Linked DNA regions of Homo sapiens: regions 1 and 2 are each linked to region 3. Evidence: promoter capture Hi-C in 16 types of primary human blood cells and fetal thymus (Javierre and others, 2016). All regions are on one chromosome and are shown on one strand. Each heading gives the region's core, a stretch centred on a gene start or on the middle of the fragment in contact. The rest is flanking DNA. Distances are from core to core; before and after follow the strand shown.

What was found. The method cuts DNA at HindIII sites, captures the fragments that hold promoters and counts their contacts. A CHiCAGO score of 5 or more calls a contact.
Region 1: a contact is called between a fragment that was not itself captured here and the fragment with the promoter of MESD in region 3, in 2 of 17 cell types (M1 macrophages and M2 macrophages). The highest score is 7.1, in M1 macrophages.
Region 2: a contact is called between a fragment that was not itself captured here and the fragment with the promoter of MESD in region 3, in 1 of 17 cell types (M2 macrophages). The highest score is 5.7, in M2 macrophages.

What each region holds. Positions count from the first base shown.
Region 1 is chr15:80,471,770-80,475,722 of GRCh38, reverse strand. ARNT2 (aryl hydrocarbon receptor nuclear translocator 2) reads right to left here. Exons shown (of 19, transcript NM_014862.4): 5 at 500-713. Among named protein-coding and RNA genes, the nearest start is that of ARNT2, 69 kb to the right of the region's middle. The HindIII fragment of the contact is 2,811 bases long and covers 890-3,700 here.
Region 2 is chr15:80,431,776-80,436,019 of GRCh38, reverse strand. All of the region lies in intron 1 of ARNT2 (aryl hydrocarbon receptor nuclear translocator 2), which reads right to left. Among named protein-coding and RNA genes, the nearest start is that of ARNT2, 30 kb to the right of the region's middle. RefSeq lists enhancers at 1-27, 353-852. The HindIII fragment of the contact is 7,588 bases long and covers 1-4,244 here.
Region 3 is chr15:80,988,194-80,992,395 of GRCh38, reverse strand. MESD (mesoderm development LRP chaperone) reads left to right here and starts at 2,577. Exons shown (of 3, transcript NM_015154.3): 1 at 2,577-2,817. The coding sequence starts at 2,605. RefSeq lists a silencer at 2,304-2,583 and enhancers at 2,334-2,628, 2,268-2,881, 2,614-2,893, 2,882-3,496. The HindIII fragment of the contact is 12,917 bases long and covers 1,947-4,202 here.

The DNA.
Region 1 (3,953 bases), core at 1,046-3,545, 520 kb after region 3:
CAGAAAAATGTGATGTAGTAAAAATGGATTTTTAAATGTTATCGAATGAATGAAGCTATCACACAGGCCAACTCACATATATTCCCTCACCTTTAGGCAGCTTTTTATGGCCTCCAGTTTCCTGGCCTGTTTACTAAAATAATTTTTTTTTTTTTTTTTTTTTGAGACAGAGTCTCACTCTGTCACCCAGGCTGGAGTGTAGTGGCACAATCTTGGCTCACTGCAAGCTCTGCCTCCCAGGTTCATGCCATTCTCCCACCTCAGCCTCCGGAGTAGCTGGGACCACAGGCGCCCACCACCACGCCTGGCAAATTTTTTGTTTTTGTATTTTTTGTAGAGACGGGGTTTCACCATGTTAGCCAGGATGGTCTTGATCTCCTGACCTCGTGATCCACCCGCCTCAGCCTCCCAAAGTACTGGGATTACAGGCGTGAGCCACCATGCCCAGCCAAGAATGTTTTCTAGAGTCAAACAGCCTCATAAAGGGAGCTCCACTGACCTGTCATTGAGTTTTCTGAGGTGCACAGTTGCTCTCTCAGCTTCTCCACGTCATCAGGATGCACCTGTTCATACAGTGTGCTCCCAAACCACTCTGACTGGGGCTGGTTCAGAACAGGGGTGACGGAGTCAGACACATAAATCACTCGCCCTGTCTCAGCAGCCACCACAAACAGAAATCCATCAGCTGCTTCAAGGATGAGATGCTTCAGTTCCTATAAAGAAAAGATTATGATTGGCACAATACACTGACAGACCCAGGATGATTCAACTTTCTTATTGGGAAAGCAGCCTTCAATTTCCTTTATCTGCATATTTATTCTGGTACACAAATAGTTTGGGAAATGAGAACTTTGTTTCTGGAAAATAAGCTAGAAAAATGCACAAAGCTTGCACCATCCCTACGATACAGCTACTGTAAACACGGTTAGCCCATCTTCATTAGTCCTTTGTTGGGGAGAGAAAATTTCCAGCCTAGGGGGATGGGAGAGCAATGAGTGATCACCAGAAGGTACTGGGTTGCCAGAGGCGTGAACAGCTTTGCCACATATTGAAACTGTAGTCATGTCATTGGAGCAGAAGGGCCCAACACATAGTGCTTGGCACAAAAGGTGCTAGATAGAAGGAAGGGAAGGGGAAGGGGAAGGTGAGAAGGGAGAACGAAAGAGACCACGTGTCTCCCCACCCACAGCTTGCCGTACTGAAAGTACCCTCTTGTTCCTTTTCTCTTTCCATATTTCTGAGCTGAATGCTGGCACTGGCTATAAGAGTATCCCCTTACATTTGCATTTCTGTCAGATTTCCAGAACTGACAATAATCACCATCATCTCAAAAGACTCTCAGAGTAACTCTGGGAGGCAGCAGGGAATACAGCATTATCCATATCACTTTACAGTGAGAAGAGGATAGGAGCATCAACCTTCAGCTCACATTGATTCATTGGGGTCATGACTGTCATTGAAGGCAGGGAGGAAACTGGGATCAAGGAAGGGGCAGCAGGAAGCCTTGATATTATCCTCAGAAGGACGTGGATGGGGCAAAATTAACTTTGTTAAAACAAGATGTCTTTTCTTTGCAGCGCCTGAAGGCAGCTCAAGTATAGTTGCCCATACTATTCTCACATCAAGCTAAGGAGCCCTTTGCCACTGAATGAAATGGGCTTTGTGCCTGCAGGAGCCAGGCACTAAGTCTTCCCTAGACACTGTAATCCATGGCCACCCTTCCAACCACTTCAAGTACTGTTCAGGCTCCAGAGGACAAAGGTATCCTTCTAGGTCAGCAGCTAGCAAACATCTTTTGGCTGGCAATCTTTTGTTTGAATGTAATCTTATGTGAAAACCCCACTGTAAAGCACATGGACAGCCAGCAGAGTGAAGGCAAAAGGTGGAGAGTCTGGCGCCCCAAATCCCAGTAACTGAGCAGGGTACAAGGACCCAGAGACTAGGGAACATTGATATGCTGATGAGCAGAACCCAGGGAGCTTTGTAAATGTGTCTAAGCCCTTGGCTGGGGAGGAATTCTAACATCCTCTGCCTGGGAAACCAGGGCAGAAGCAGTTGGTACAAGCATTTTTTAAGGATAAGTTTATTTTGCCCATTTCTCTTGCTTTGCACTTTTGCTGTTCTGCGTCACCTAGATGCTTAATTAGTTCAGGGAATTCGGTCAGCATTTTTATTTTCAGTTTTTGGATGATCTTCCCAACAGAAAGAGCTGTTAAGAGAATTAAAAACGGAAGAGGGTGCCTGGGGAAGTACAGAATTCTTTGTCACTGGAGGAGAGGAAGTGGAGACTGAATGACTTTACTCATGAATTCACATTTTTGTCCAGTTTGCAAAGACTGTGGGGAGGTCTTATGGGATGAAGCCCTGCTCGCATCACGGACCCTCTTTTTTCCACCCTCCTCCCTGATGTGTATTCCCTGGGAGACCATCTATCACTACCAAGTTCCTGTGCCCTGATCCAGAACCAGCCTCTACACTCCAAGAAAACAGTCACGGTTAAGAGCATGTATTCTGGAGTAAAAGGAGACTATCACCTACCGCTCTCCCACTTAGCTGTGCAACTTTGGGCATGTTACTTCACGCCCTCAGCAATGTTTTTCAGTGAGCTCTTGCAAGGTTAAATGAGATGCTGTGTGTGAGGACTTAGTAAGGGCCTGGCACACAGTAGGTGCTCCATAAATGTAACCATTATCATCACCATCCAAGCAGCTGAGAGAGGAACAAAGGTAGGGCTCATCTGACCTGCATAGCTGCCTTCTCTCTTCACGCCACTTTCATAATCCTCAGTCACTTAAAGATAACGAGATTCATTTCAAACCTTGACTCTGTAGGTCTTTTGGTGAGGATTAAAAAAATATAGACAAAAAACTGATTCTAGCAGCCAGTAGTGCTCAATAATTTCTGTCTGTTACTTACCAGCTATTTACCCTTCATTATACCTCAGGCCCATGTTAAACAGTCTATGCTTGTTGCCTTCCTCACCACAACCACACGAGCTGGGAGCTATCACTGCATTTATTTTTACAGAGGTGGAAATGAGGCTTGAAGCTCCTGCCCTGACCACCACAGTTTGTGTCCTCCAAGTGGCACATATTACCACTGCTGGACCTTCCTAACATCTGCCAAGCGAGGGCTCCCATGACCACTGGGATGATTTAGAAAGGGATCAAATAGGTGAAGTGCTTGCTAAAGTGTCTGCCACAGAACAGACAGTAATAAACGTTAGTTCCTCATCCCTTATTCTTTTTAAACCTAACTTCCATGACATAAATCGAGTCTCGGCTCTAGCAGAATAAATCATTAGGTCTCCCAACAAAATCTTTTTCATTCCTGCCTGTGAGGTTCTGTACACACTCTTCCCTTTTTGTGAAATCCCTTCTGCTCCCCTCTTTCTAGGTATTTTTTGTGGCTCCTTTCTATGCCAATACTGTCTCTGTCCTGAGAAGTCCCTCTTGATAATACCAGGACACTTCCACTCTATTTCAGCTTGGCCACACGCTGTGTCTTGTTAAATCCTCCATTACTTTTAGGACCCTATACCCTACATACTTTTGCATTTCCTAACTGCATGCCCTGACAACTGTATTATTTCACCTCCCCACCCCAATGCCCCCCCACCGGCTATACACAATGAAGTGCTTTCAAATCCATCACCTCATTTATCCTGCAAAAGCTCTTGGAGACAGGAAAGCAAAAAGCTTTATGTTCATTTCACAGATGAGCACACTGAAGCTTAGAGTATTTGCCAACTTGCCCTATGACCAGCACATGGAAATACAAAGACCCTGAACACAGGCCTCTGGCTCATGTAAAGCCACTTATAAAATACGACCTCACTAGCCATTTTGTGCGTTTCTTCTTGCCAACTAGTCAAAGACTAGTGTAGGTGTTAAAAATATGGCTTTGGGGTCCTACCAGCCTGTCTTCACTGGACCCAATCTTGGCTCCTCCAC
Region 2 (4,244 bases), core at 1,704-4,203, 560 kb after region 3:
AGGAGGGGATGACTTGGGCTGTAGGAAGTGGAGGCTTCCGGTGCAGTTAGCTGAAGACAATGTGCTCACAATTGCACATGTGCATGGCATCGTAGCTGGGACGCACTAGCCATTCAACACATTTTTTTCCTTTTTTTTGCCCATATCTCCTCAAATTCCTTTTACCATCAACACATATTTTTGACACGGATGAATAAATGAATCAATGAATGGATAAATTTTGCTCTGAGTGCTGCCCTAAGAGGCACATACAAGGTTCTCAATTATTCAGGTGCAAAATCAGTGCCAAGTGATCCACGGCCATTTCAAAGCTGTCTCTGAAGCCCACACGCCTCCCACTTCTAAGCCGGTAATGGCCTTGGACAGCATATCCTTAGTACTGCCTGCTCCTGTGGACAGAGGGAGGGAGGGAACCTGGCCTCTGAGCCAGAGGAATGTGAGAGGGCTGTGGGGTCAGCAATGTGCATGGGAGGGGGGCAGCTGTTTGGACTGGGAGGCAAATGGTTCTATGGGAAGGGGTGGGAAAGGGAGGACCAGGGCCCAGGATGAAAGGAAGCCAGTTCAAAGGCCCATGCAGCCTCCGCTCAGCAGCAACGGACCTTGCTGCTTCTGAAGCAGGGACTGACCCAATAACGGCTCTTCTCAGGAGGAAGTTACTATGCCCGCAATCCTGGAGGCTCAGGGTTCTTCAAAAGTGAGAACCAAAACTTAAAGGGAAGGGTACTCTGTACTGCCAGCCTCCATCACTCCAAGAGGGAAAGAGAACCTCGGGCAGAGCTGGCACCTATGGAGGAGGCAATGGGGTGTCCTGGCTGAGAAAAGGACGAGGGCAGGCAGAGGGCAGGAGGTGTGTGGCCAGGTGGCCCGATGGCAGTGCTGGCTGTTGGCTGTATCTGCAGACACTAAGGGATTGGGGAGCTCCCTGGAAACTGGGCTTCAGTGAGCGTGGAGAGTGGTACAGGCGACAACCGGTAGGAGGGGAGAGTGACCCCAGACATCCCAGTGGTTTACCCGCAGGTAAGGATCCAGGTGCTGCCTCTCAGGAGCAGGAGTTGGAAAACATAAAAGGAGAAGGTGGCCTCAAACAGCTCCCCTGTTGTATCCATCTCCCACCCACCCTGCGCCCAGGACCTCAGAAAGATTCAGGAAAAACTTCCATGAAAGTACCACTTCTTACCTATCTTAACCCGAGCTCCTGGCTTTATCTTTATTTCAATCTATTATCCTGCTCCTGGACATCCCCTCTCCTTTTCCTTCTCTCTTCCACTCCCCGTTCCCTGCCTCTCCTCTGCTCCCCACTCCCTCTCCCGGTCTACCTGTCCCCTCTCTTCCTCCACTCACTTGCCGATTTTCTCTTGATCTCTCACTGCATCCCTTGCTCTCTGTCCCCACTCCTTTGACCCCTCTGGGCATCTCTGAGTCCTACTAATGCTCTGCCTCCCCGACAAAAAGCACAGATGAGCTCACACTCACACCTTCACACAAATGCTTTCTTTCCTAGGTCTCTCTTCTCTGGCTTTGTCACTCTGGACTTTGCTTCCGGCTTCAAGTTTCTAGGTGTAATATGTGAAGATTAATGGCAATGAAGCAAACGTGCATAAGAAAATCCACGCAGCAAAGGCAATTCCGTTATTCTCAAGTCCATAGATGCCCAGTGTGACATTGTGAACTGGAGAAAAAGGAGCACTTCCTGTTCAGGAAATCTTGTAAAATCATAAATGTCAGGACTCAGTCAACAATACCCCAAAATGAAGGCCTCAGAAGCATCCTCAGAGGAAAAATTTATTTCTCTGATCTTCTCTTGCCCTCCTGTCTCTTAGCGCCATTCTCCCCTGAGGCTAGACACAGACACTAGAATCCCTCTGCCCCAGGGCAGGGCATGGAAGCCAGAAGCCTTTTTCCCCAAAGCCAGCCATAAAACTTAAAGATGTCACTCTAACTTTCCCTCTGCCTTTCTGTGTGAAAACTGGCCATAAAGAAACTATCTGCCCTACCTTGTTTGACTGAAGGTCATAAGACCCTCATTCCAGAGAGGGTCCTGCCTCATACTCAGAAGGAAGGAATGCACGTTCAGCAAGGCCAAGAAGAATCTAAACAGACAGGCCTTGCTGAGTTTCCCCACTCAGCCGATTGACATTGGATCATGCCCTTTTCGTCTAATCCTATATCTACACGGCTGTCCATACTTTGTTGAACATAAGCATAAAAATGGTCAGTTTCCTCTGTATCTTTGGGTCATTCTGAAGGTTCTCATGTACACATTAATAAAATTTATACCCATTTTCTCCAATTAACCTGCCTTTTGTGAGTTGATTTTTCAGCAAACCTTCAGAAAATGAAGAGGCTTTCCCTTTGCCCCTCCAGTAACAAAATGGTATCTCATTCTCTAAATACAATTATTTCTATAAAATGCCTTTTCTAGGCTGGGTGTGGTGGCTCACGCCTGTAATTCCAGCACTTTGGGAGGCCGAGGCGGGGGGAGGTGGTGGGTGGATCACTTGAGGCCAGCAGTTCAAGTCCAGTCTGGACAACATGGTGAAACCTCGTCTCTACTAAAAATACAAAAATTAGCCGGGCGTGGTGGTGTGCACCTGTAGACCCAGCTACTCGAGAGGCTGAGGCAGGAGAATCACTTGAACCTGGGAGGCAGAGGTTGCAGTGAGCCGAGATCGCACCACTGCACTCCAGCCTGGGCAACAGAGCAAGACTCGGTCTCAAAAAATAAAATAAAATAAAATAAAATAAAATAAAATAAAATAAAATAAAATAAAATAAAATAAAATAAATAAAATATAGTGCCTTTTCTAAAAAGGAAAAAAAATGTGGGCATACCCGCTGTTTACACAACAAATTGATTAAGGAACTCACATATCCTTCCACAGATCTAAAATCCCCTTTAAGAGGTTTTATGAAACAAAGTAGTTTCCTTGTTGAATATATTCCTTGATGAATATATTCATCCATCATTCACCAAAAAAACATTTTGTGTTAAATTTTAAACTGTGAATTACTCTACAAATATAAAATATATGCAAAACAGTAAAAATGTTTACACACAAGGCATTAAAATCTGTTTTCTTTTCAAAGCAGTTAAGGTGTTATTTTTATGCTATTTGGTACTATAAACCAAATGGGATGCTCCTCGATGTCTTAATTTATGCTTGGGACTCCAATACTTGAAGATAGGGGAGCATGAGCTTCTGGAGGAGAAAAAGGCTGTGGGATTTCCTAGCACAGGAGGCTGAGCTGTGATGGTGAGACCATACCTTCTGGTTATAGAGGAGGACAAGCTCTCTGTTCATGGGAACATTGTTGTGTCTCTCAGAGGCCTCAGCCCAAGCAGAAGATCCATCTCCACCTGCACCACCTAAGCCACAGGTTGGCAAACTTTTTCTGGGAAGGATCAGAAAGTAAATATTTCAGGCTTTGAAGGCCATAAGGTCTCTGTGGCAACTACTCAACGCTGCAGTTATGGTACAAAAGCAACCGTAGACACAGTCTATAAATGAGTGGGGGTGGTTGTGTTTCAATGCATGAGCACTGAGATTTGAATTTCAAATAATTTCCACATGTCATGGAATATTCTTTTGGTGTTTTTTTTCCATCAATTTAAAAATGTAAAAATTATTCTCAGCTCATGGCCCATACAAAAACAGGAGGCAGGGCAGATGCAGCCCATTGGCCATAATTTGCCAACCTCTGATCTAAGCATCAGGTCCCAGAAAATTCAAGAAGAGGCGAGAAATCTTCTACCTCTAATTCAGCTGACCTGATGGCAAGACACTGCCGTTCCCCCCGTGCCCCAGAGACGCAGGTGAAGGGCTGGTGCGGGTGCACTATTTCATCAAAGTCCACACCCTCCAGGGAGCAGTAGTTGAATGGGAAACAGATGCTGCATTTTTACCTATTGACAGTAGGCCCTTAATCTTTGCAGCTGAGCTTTCAGGAGACAGCAGCATCAATTCTCCGTGGAGAAAAACTTTCACAAGGATCATGGTCAGTTCCATTGGGCCATTTAGGCTGACATACCTGAGCTTGTCCTGGAGGAAAAGGAGGAGCGGCCCTGGGCAGCGACCCCAGAATGGCCGGTTGCTTCAGAGAGCTACTTCAGCTGAGAGCTACTTCAGCTGCTCAGCCCCCTGCTGGGTGCTCTCCACCAGGAGGTCCTGAGAGAGGGCTTCGGCCACCAGGGGGTCTTTGAGGAAGCACTGGAGGAACAAAGCCCACCCTCAGCACCAAAAGGG
Region 3 (4,202 bases), core at 1,328-3,827:
TTTCCATTTGGCTCCCAATTTAACCATCCTGAGTGCCTCACTGATTAACCTAGATGGTGCTGTGGCGGAAGAAGGACTCCAAGAAGACTGGACCTTGTTATCCAGTACACCTCGGCTTAGATTCTTGCCTTGCCGCTGCACTAGCTGTGCAGCCTCAGACAAATTGTGTAATTGTAAAACCAGGATTTCCTCTTATTTAAATTGGAGAGATTATCATCATCATCACATCATCCCTTTGGGCCCGGATCTCCTGTAATCTGCATGAAATTTACTGCATATTGTTTATCTGCTCTGCCAGAGTAAGGATATTGTTATATTCATTTTTGCATCAGTGCCTCACCTGATTCTTGGTTAACAATAGGTCTTTGGTAAATAAAATTCCCCCCAAGTTGAATGGAATCAAGTTCCAAACACTAAAGTAAGTTTCAAATATCCAAATGTTGAAAATGCAATTGATCCAGATGTTTTCATATCAGTGGATTATATGCCGAATTGATTTCCTCCTTAGAGGAAAGTCAGTAGCCCTGAAACTTTCTACACATTCCCAACAATTTCTGTAAAACTTTCAATGATCTTATTCTCTATAACTAGATATGTGGGCCAAGAATCCCAACACGTTTGCCCCTTAACTTTGAAGCTGGCAATATGAATTACCAGGGTGACCCCTCCCAGTAGAGCACATGATCAGCCACAGCTGTGCATGTTTTTTAGTATGACTGCACTAGGATAGGGCTCCAAGCCACTGGGTGGAGCAATGTGCTCTGGGGAGAAAGCTCATGACATTTCCCCTATGATTTCACAAAAGAAAAAATCTTTTTCTTATGAGTTGTTTCTGCTCAACGTCAATAGGAAAGGTCATAGCTTAGCGTGTTTACATACAGATGCATGCATGAATATGTAGAATATCAGCCACTCCTACGGTGTGAGAGAATTTAAATTGCACTGGTCCTAAGAGTGAAGGAAAGCAGGCGTAGTTGCCTACTCAACCTCCACTTTATTCTTTTCCCTTTATAACAATCCTAATTTCATTTGAGATGACAATGTATACAGCTAGAAGACAATTTCTCAGCCTCCCTTGGAGAGCTAGGTTCCAGCCAATGAGATGTAAACAGAAATGTATGCAATGTTCAAGTAGGCTGCTTAAAAGAAGTTGACTCCACTTGAAAGGTGTGCTTGGTTTGGCCTGCCTTCTCCCTTCCTCTGGTTGAATGTCATCTTGATGACTGGAGCTCCAGGAGCCATCCTGGAATTTCTGACCTTGAGGGTGGAAGCCACAGGCTAATATGATAGAAGGATGAGGAAGAGGCTGAGTACCAGATGGCTGAGAAGCCACTATACCAGCCCTAGTTTCGAGTTTACACTGCTTCTGTGAAAGAAAAGTCAATCACAATAAAACCTTTTATCTTGTTTAAACCACCTTAAAAAGTCAGTTTTCTTTTATATGCAGCCTACTAATCCTATCCAAACAAGGCTTGAATAAGGTTTACTACAGCTCTTTTTTGTTGTAATAGCAGAAAAATTGGTAATAAATGCCCATCAATAGGAAAATAAACTATTAATTTAACAATACCAAATAAAACTGTGCAGCAGTATAAAGAATGAAGCGTTTTTTGTTGTTGTTTTTGAGATGCGGGTCTTGCTTTATTGCCCAGTCTGGTCTCAAACTCCTAAACTCAAATTATCGTCCTACCTCAGCCTCCCAAAGTGCTGGGATTATAAAGGCTTAAGCCACCGTGCGGCCTTTGGTTTTTTTTGTTTTTTGTTTTTTAAGGTCTTATGTAATTAAACATTTTAAAGACATCAGCTGATGAGCCGTTTAAAACAAGAAGAATCTCAAAGCATCTTTGGCCAAAATCTTTTTAAGAAACAAAAAGTAGCGTGATTCAGCCTTGAAAAGGATTAGTTAGAGCCTACAGTATTAGGTTGAAATCAAAGAAAGGCAAGCTTTTTTTTTTTTGGATGAATAGTAATGATCTTTTTGGAAAAAAAAAACAAATATTGAAAGCTGGTTGAACTGAATCCTCTTTATTGATGAGGAAAGCAGTGGACTCGAACTATTTATGACTTTCTGAAAAAAGTTGCCCTACCTGCCACTCACTTCTTTTTAACTGGCTGTTCTCAAAGGAAATTGCAAGAGACTGAGGATAAACGTCCGACATCCAGAAATGGGCTTTTTTAGAGCCGAGGCAGCCTCCAGAACTTCCAGTTCCAATTTATTTCACAGGCGAGAAACTGAGGTCAACAGGGACGTTGGTTAGTGGTTCCTGGAGGCCCTGAAGGAACTTTTGGACCTGGCTTGTGCGTTCCAGAGAAAAAGGTCGGCCTCTGACGGAAAACGAAAAATGAGCACTCAGGGACCCACCCAGCCGGGACAGAGCGCCTCAGCCGGACCAAGAGGAGGAGCCAGTGGGGCGGGGCCAAAATGGCGGAGGGGCGGGGCTTCCAGAGGCGGGGGTTAGGAAATGGTACGGGGCGGGGCCCGGTAGGCTAGCGAGGGCCGGGAGGCGGGGCCTCGGAAAGGCGGACAGGAAGGCGTGTGCAAGGCGGGGTCCGGCCCGCGCAGGTCGGGTAAGCGCGTCTAGGGCGCTGCGCGGCGCAGCGAAAATGGCGGCTTCCAGGTGGGCGCGCAAGGCCGTGGTCCTGCTTTGTGCCTCTGACCTGCTGCTGCTGCTGCTACTGCTACCACCGCCTGGGTCCTGCGCGGCCGAAGGCTCGCCCGGGACGCCCGACGAGTCTACCCCACCTCCCCGGAAGAAGAAGAAGGATATTCGCGATTACAATGATGCAGACATGGCGCGTCTTCTGGAGCAATGGGAGGTCCGCGGCGCGCGCACACCCTCCCGGCTCTTCTCTGTGCGGGACCCTGTTCCCTATGACCCCTTACCTGTTCTGTCTTGGGACCTTTCTGACCCCCTAACCTCCTCTACTCATGCCTTGAATCCTTACTGACCCACTGAAGCCACTGTTGACCCTCCATTCCTCCTCTGACCCGCGCGCCCTGCTGACCCTCGCTCCAGCCCTCTGTCATTCCAGTGCCCTGTTCCTCCTGCCATTTCTCAAACCACTTCAATCACGGATCTGCCCCTCACTGTTCAGCTTTGCTCTCCCTTCACCCTTCAGTGCCCTGGTTGTCTTTGCGTTGATTCTTGTGGTCAGTGAGCCCTGCAAACAGGGAGAGTGACCTTTCCCAATCTACTAAAGAGCATTTCCTTCTGTTTTGCGGTGAGTGGGTGGGAGAGTGGGTTGCAGTGAAGATGGTCTTCCTTAATGGTTATCTCAGCTGTCTTCTAAATCAGTATAATTTTAGACTTCCTATTTTGGTATATGTCCCTGCTGGGAATTTTGTGCTTTTTGTGGGTGGATTTATTTTACTGAGGGGAGAAGTATCAATGGCTAATGGCTCTGTATCGTGAAACTCACGCTTTTTGTTCAAAGGAGAGTAAGTTTTCTGGTTTGTCACTTGGACGCACCGGAGTGTGCAGTTACAGGGAGTGTGTAATACGCTTTAAGGTAAAGATTACTGGCCAAAACCACATTGCTGCCTTTTCCCCTTCCTAAGGTGATTGTATCGTCCTGGTTGACTTGCATAGCTGTGGAACCTTGGGCAGGTTATGTCTAGTTTCTAGGCCTCGGTTTCTTTATCTGCAACATGAGGAGGTTAGGATGGGTCCTAAGATTCCTTCCAACACTGATGTTTTGTTATTTTGTGATTATCTCTGTGTGTGTTACGGGAGAAGGGAAAGACTTTCAGACAAGAGTTTAAAATACCACCTGATGCATCTGACTAGAAGAATGCAGGCTTGTGTTTTCATGTGGTCATCAACAGCTGATGGAAAGATTGGGATAGATTTGAGTGTAGAGAGAACGTCCCCATTCACCGTCTCCCTTGCAATCTCCTTGTCTCTTTTTGGACTCCAGCAAATAAAGCCTTTTGATCTGCCAGAGTGAGAACATCACCTCATGAGAAATCCTCCCCTTGACCTACTCAGACCCTGAGCTAGACGAAGAGGGTGCTGAAGAGATGAACAAAGATTGCACTGGGAACAGTAGATAACAGGATGGATGAGTGGGGAGAGACTTTGAAGGCCAAGAAAAACACATTATCTCATTTAATCCTTTTACCCCATCCATGAGGGAGGTACTTATCCCTATTTTCTAGATGATGACATTGAGACACAAAGAGGTTAAATAACTTGCTCCAC